Regions from separate parts of the Homo sapiens genome. Here region 2 is linked to region 1. The links are contacts of gene promoters, found by promoter capture Hi-C in human tissues and cell types (Jung and others, 2019). All regions are on one chromosome and are shown on one strand. The core of a region is centred on a gene start or on the middle of the fragment in contact, and the rest is flanking DNA. Distances in the headings are between cores, read along the strand shown. Region 1 holds the start of MEDAG (mesenteric estrogen dependent adipogenesis). Region 2 has its middle 2.7 kb from the start of HMGB1.

Evidence for each region. The method cuts DNA at HindIII sites, captures the fragments that hold promoters and counts their contacts. A contact is called where the count stands out against the background at its distance.
Region 2: a fragment that was not itself captured here is called in contact with the fragment with the promoter of MEDAG in region 1 in 1 of the 25 tissues and cell types used here (dorsolateral prefrontal cortex).

What each region holds. Positions count from the first base shown.
Region 1 is chr13:30,904,809-30,907,993 of GRCh38, reverse strand. MEDAG (mesenteric estrogen dependent adipogenesis) reads right to left here and starts at 1,723. Exons shown (of 5, transcript NM_032849.4): 1 at 1,201-1,723. The coding sequence starts at 1,478. All of the region lies in intron 2 of TEX26-AS1 (TEX26 antisense RNA 1), which reads left to right. RefSeq lists an enhancer at 621-1,122. The HindIII fragment of the contact is 12,319 bases long and covers 1-3,185 here.
Region 2 is chr13:30,466,998-30,470,182 of GRCh38, reverse strand. It overlaps a transcript of HMGB1 not described here. Among named protein-coding and RNA genes, the nearest start is that of HMGB1, 2.7 kb to the right of the region's middle. The HindIII fragment of the contact is 6,825 bases long and covers 1-3,185 here.

The DNA.
Region 1 (3,185 bases), core at 474-2,973:
ACAGTCCTCCGCTTATGGTTTGGAATTGGAATTTTCATTTCACTAAGAAAGGGAGAAATTCTTGCTGGGGAATGGTTCTTCAGGCATTCAGAGCCCTCACTATCTTTGGAAAAGCAAGGTTTTTTCTCCAAGAGTTTTGAAGACTGCACGTTCAATATCTCATTTTGTTTGCTTCCCTCTCTTGGCTCCCTCCTACCCACAGGGTGCCACAGCACGCTGTCTTTCCCAGTAGCAAAGGCGCTGTGTCTCAAAAGCTGGCTATCTTATTCATTTCTGAGTCAAACTCTAGACCATGCTTGCCTCTTCAGGCACTTGGCTCTCTCAGCACAAATATAACAGGTCTTTGCACTCCAGGCCCTTGCCAAGAGTGAACTCTGGAGGCCTGAGGCCATGTGGAATCAGGCCTGAAGTGCCCTCCTTTACCCTGTGGCACCAAAGCCTGCTTCAGATGGCTGGGCCACATCCTGCCGGTCTGCCAAGAAGAGCTTGGGGGCACTCTGGCCACAACAGTCAAGCATCCTGGGGGCCTCCTTCCCATTAAGGCCCTCAGGTTTCGCACTTATTTCCCCAGAACTTATCTGTGCCTTCCACAGCCCACATGGCCCCGGGCTGGACTTCCAGGGGCTTTGTTCCCTTCTCAGCTGCGGTTTATTTGTTTACTTTTGAAACACGAAGTGAGGCCAGAGATGGGAAACTTTGAGCTTTTGCATGCTTCTCCACTCGGTCTCCTCACTGGAGAGGGCTGGCAGTGCTCAGAATGGTGCATGCCCCCTGCTCCTCACCGCCACCCATGCTCCAAAGCCAGGATGTGAGTCTTGCAGAGCTGCAGACAGCCCCTAAAGGGTGTGCTCCCAATTTGAGCTCATCTGACCCAGTTAAGGAGCCAGAATGGGAGAAGCATCTGCCACTCATGAGCTCTGGCTGGGGGGCCCCTGCCCTCCCCCTCGCCCCCAGTCCTGATGCCCTTCTGGGCGGCTTCAAGCAGCAGCTGCAAAATGTCAGTGCAAGAGGCAGAAGAACCAGGGCGAGCGTGCAGGCTCCGGGTGATAGAAGCAGAAGGAAAGTCTAGAAGCGCACGGAGCAAGGGGCCACGCGGTGTCGCAGGCAGCGAGGACAGCCCAGGCTCCCAGAGACCGCAGCCGGGTGGAGGCGTCTGCGGGTACCAGGCGACGGGCCAGGGCGCACGGCGAGGCCACCCACCTCTTGATGTAGCTGCTGAGGCGGTAGAGCTGCCCGTCGAGGCGCACGAGGCCGTCACCGAAGACGTTGAAGCCCCCCCGCGCCGCCGCCGGCTCCCCGGGCCTGGCCACCACGAGCTGGTCGCCGCTCAGCTGGAAGGCACCGGGCTGCAGGCGCAGCAGCTGAGCCAGCGGCAGCAGGGCCAGCTCGCAGTCGCAGGTCCACAGGCTGCGAAGCTCCCCAGACGAGATGGAGGTCAGGCTCGGCCTGGCCACCGGCTCGCAGGCCGCCCCCGCCATGCCCGCGTCGTCGGTCCTCACACCGCCTGCTTCCGTCCGGTGCCTACAGCCCCCAGCCGGCACCTGATGGTCCCCAGGAGGGGCCGGGCGCCCTGCCTGCGTCAGCCGCGCGCGAGGTGAGGAGGGGGTCGGTCTGCCCGCCTGGCCGGGACGCGGTGGCCGCTCAGGTGCCAGTCTGACCGCCCGGGCGGCCCCTCCCAAGCTGCCACTCGCTGGGAGCCCTGCAGGCACCGCGCGGAGAAAGCGGCCCCGGCGCAGCGCGGCCCCTTTTATCCGCCCTCTGGACGCCCGCCTCGCCCCTGCCGGCCCACGGCCACGACCCCAGAGGCTCGGGGCAGAGTTATCATCGTCTCATAACTTGGCATGCTCGAGTCTGCTCGCAGGCAAGGCTTAGTCATCCCCCTGGGGTCCACTACTCAACACCAGCGCTGGCCCCCGCCCTGCCTGGCGGACACTGCCGGAGGCTGGAGGTGGGGAGAGTCCTCCCCGGGTTCCCAGGCCCTGCCTATGGTGGGCGGCAGGGCGCACAGCACCCATCCTTGCCTAAGACACCACACCCCTGGTGTTGATTGGAGAAGAAGGCAAGGGCTCTGGCCCTACCCATTCCACCTGGGACCCAGAGGCTGTCAAAGGCCAGTGCTGGAACTCCGATCCCCACCTCAGTACCAGACCTCTCACTCAGCCTCAGTTTTCTGCCATTTTAACTCCATCCAGATCGTACCCTGCATTTCCCTCCTTTCAGCCTTTCCTTCAGCTGGTTGCTGGCCCTGGATCCCTTCCCCCTAGAAATCCCACTGATCATCACATCGCTTTTCCATAAAGCCTTCACGAATCCCACGAGGGTTTCATCGCTTTGCTTCTCCTTTCTACTGCACGGTGAACCCTAGACTGCAATGTGCCGTGTAGTGGGGATAGCAGGGTCCTAGCATCCTCCCTTCTCCCCTGCCTCCCCAGTAGGTGGTGATCTCCTTGAGCCCCAGAATATGTTCATTTCTTCAGTCTATAAATATGTGAGTGCTAGCTATGGGCTCATTGATCTCCTGAGGTATGAAAGGAGAACTATATTATTCCATTTAATTAAACACCTATTTCTGCTGCGGAGAAGCCTGGATGGGATGGGAGGAGAATCTAGCCTAGTTTCGAGGCTTTCTGTAGTACTGTGTTTTAGGATTCTAAGCTACATCCCAAAAGTTGAGTAGAACGTAGAGAATATCCTTAGTTAGTCTTTGTGTGCCCCCACATGAACTCTTGTGTAGGTTTAATCAGATGGGATGAAGAGTCCTCCCGCCACATCTCATTTAAATCTCAGAATATAAATGAGCCCCACTCTCTTCTCTTCTTCTAGGTGCACACCTATCCTTTCTCCAGACATGGATCTTTTACCCATGGGATCATTACCCCATCTCTGGGCCTCTCTGAACAAATCTAATTCACTGAGCATGAATTGATCACTACCCACTCAACCTTTTGTGGCGCAGGAAGGATGCTCTACCTGTGAAAAAAGCATCCAGAAGATCTTCTTGCAAAGGGAGGTTTGAGGATCCCTGCAAAGAGAATGGGTCTGGGGTGGGCTGAGACTGTAGACAGGACTCAGAGGCTGGGGCTGTTTTCACAGGGGAGGGATTTGGTGCCAGCAGTTAAATCCATTGTGCCCTATTTAGAACTTCACTCTTGTCCCAAACATTGACAGAGTCATCACTATGCACC
Region 2 (3,185 bases), core at 384-2,883, 440 kb after region 1:
CAGTTTCTCATGCCTGTAATCCCAACATTTTGGGAGGCCAAGGAGTTTGAGACCAGCCTGAGCAACATGGAGAGACCCTGCCTCTACAAAAAAAAAAATAGCCAGCACCAGGCACGGTGGTTCATGCCTGTCATCCCAGCACTTTGGGAGGCCAAGGTAGGAGGATCACTTGAGCCCATGAGTTTGAGACCAGCCTGGGCAACATGGAGAGACCTTGTCTCTACAAAAAATAAAAATAAAAATAAATTAGCTGGGGCTGGGCACAGTGGCTCATGCCTGTAATCCCAGCACTTTGGGAGGCCAAGGCGGGCGGATCACAAGGTCAAGAGATGGAGACCATCCTGGCCAACATGGTGAAACCCCGTCTCCACTAAAAATACAAAAATAAGCTGGGCGTGGTGGCACGCGCCTGTAGTCACAGCTGTTCGGGAGGCTGAGGCAGGGGAATCACTTAAACCAAGGACGCAGAGGTTGCAGTGATCCAAGATTGTGCCACTGCACTCCAGCCTGGTGACAGAGGGAGACTCCGTCTCAAATAAATAAATAAATAGGCCGGGCGTGGTGGCACTCACCTGTAGTCCTGGCTTCCCAGGAAGCTGAGGTGGGAGGATGGCTTCAGTCCCAGAAAGTCAAGGCTGCAGTGAGCCGTGATCATGCCACTGCACTGCACTCCAGCCTGGGCAATACAGCCATAACCTGTCTTAGAAAAAAAAAAACAAAAAATACAGAGTTCTTGCCTTTAAGGTGTACAGTGCAGTGGGACAAGCAGATACAACTGGAGAACCACAATTGTGATTGCAGTAATTAATATACACAATATTACAGGATTACAGAAAAGAGGTACGTCCCCTATCCTAGAGGGGATGGAGGAAGGGCATAAAGTACATTAATGACGATCTGTAATTCAGTTGTTTAAATTGAGCATGGGAGAGGGTGTTCAGGCCTCTTCGACTGGATGACTTTGTAATTTGGGATAAAACACCCAATAACTTGGCCGGGTACCAGGGCTCATGCCTGTAATCTTAGCACTTTGGGAGGCTGAGGCGGGCAGATCACTTGAGGTCAGGAGTTCAAGACCAGCCTGACCAACATGGTGAAACCGTCTCTATCAAAAATTCAAAATTACCCAGGCATGGTGGTGCATGCCTGTAGTCCCAGCTACTCGGGAGGCTGAGGCACGAGAATTGCTTGAACCCGGGAGGTGGAGGTTGCAGTGAGCTGAGATCGTGCCATTCCACTCCAGCCTGGGCAACAGAGCAAGACCCTGTCTCATAAAAACAAAAACAACAACAACAAAAACCCAATAACTGTAAAGTAAAATATGTCAACTTGTGACTAAGGATTCATGTGGAAGAAGAAAAGCGTCTAATATCATAAAGGAACATCAAGATTGTGGGGTTAGAGCTAGAAGATGTTGGTTTTATTTTAAAATTTCTGTCTTTTTTATGTTCTTCCCTGCCTATATCACAGAAAATCAAATATAAGAAATGAATTGCCTGCAAGTGGTGGTTTTTAAACTCTTCTCTCTGATATAGTCTCTGTTAAACTTGGGAATAAATAAAGGTACCATCACCAGACTAGGGGAAGATTAGCATTGTTTGAGGTTAGGATTTAAAAAAAACAAAACAAGGCCGGGTGCAGTGGCTCATGCCTGTAATCCCAGCACTTTGGGAGGCCAAGGTGGGCGGATCACCTGAGGTCAAGAGTTCAAGACCAGCCTGACCAACATGGTGAAACCCCGTCTCTACTAAAAATAAAAAATTAGCCGGGCATGGTGGCGCATGCCTGTATTCCCAGCTACTCGGGAGGCTGAGGCAGAAGAATCGATTGAACCAGGAGGTGTAGGTTGCAGTGAGCCGAGATTGCACCGCTGCACTCCAGCCTGGGCAGTAAGAGCAAAACTCTGTCTCAAACAACAACAATAACAACAACAACAAAAAATTCACTAGATTTGCAATCACTGCCTTCATATAAGATTAAAATATGAAGAAAAACTCAAGGTTAACTGCACTTGAGGTTTTCTAAATTATGGGATTGAAGGGGTCTATATAATTTTAAACATTAAAAAAAGTTTAATCTTTACAACCCTGTGGTCCCCTCCATTTTATAGCTGAGAGAATTGAAGCATGGAGGTTTAAAAACATGCCCAAGATCATACAGCTAGTAAGTAGCAGAGCTGGGATTTGCACCCAAGTCTATTCAATTCCAGTGCCTATTACTCACCATATCATCCTGTCAAAATAGAAACCTTGTGTGGGCCCATTGCTCTCAAGATGTCCTGTGGCCATAAATGCACCCTGGCAGGAGCAAGCTGGTATAGACAACCAGTAAAGTGTATGGCCGTGCCAGTACAAAGCCAACACTGCTCCTGGAAAATATTGATAGTGCCATATTCAACTAATCGTCAAATTTTAATATCATCGATGCCACTGAAAGTATCTTAATCATTCTCATGAATATTTTGTAATATGAGACATTGAGAAGATAAGACAGTATTGAAATAAATATCTAGATTTAAAAAATATAAAATTTGAATGATTAGTAGAGGGAAGCAGAGGATAGTAAATATGTGTGAAAATAATAACATAAAAGTTAACTTTAGATATATTATCTTTAAACACTGCATGTGCAGTATACCAATTTATATCCTCTTTAATATTATAGTCTTTTTCATGTGCATGTGTGATATATTGTCCATTCACCAAGACTATAATCCCTGAGTCCGATAGTGTATTTTCTTTTAAAAAGAAATCAACATTAAAACAGGAAAGATTATCTAAGCTTACTCTCAAGTAGTTTAATACATTTGAGGAAATAAATTAGGTTATGGATGCTTATAAGCGATATAAAAAATCAAATTAACACGATGTAGGTGATTTATTCCAAATTTGATCTGTTACATTTGGAGGAATTGGTTGTTGGATTTAGAAGTGTACAAAATACCATTAGAGAGTGAAAAAAAAGGGAAGTCTGTTATAACTGAATAGGGGCGTGGTCTGCTCAGGCTAAAAGGAATAGATAGTAGTTTCATAAAGGACTGATATAACTGTAGAGTCTTCAGAACTGGCCACTACAGCCAGCACATTTTCTCTACAGACGTAAGTATGTCTATTAATACCAGCCAGCTTGGTGAGTTAGAGAAACCACAGCCTGTGGATTTGGGCACATGCACTCTCTGCCTGCAT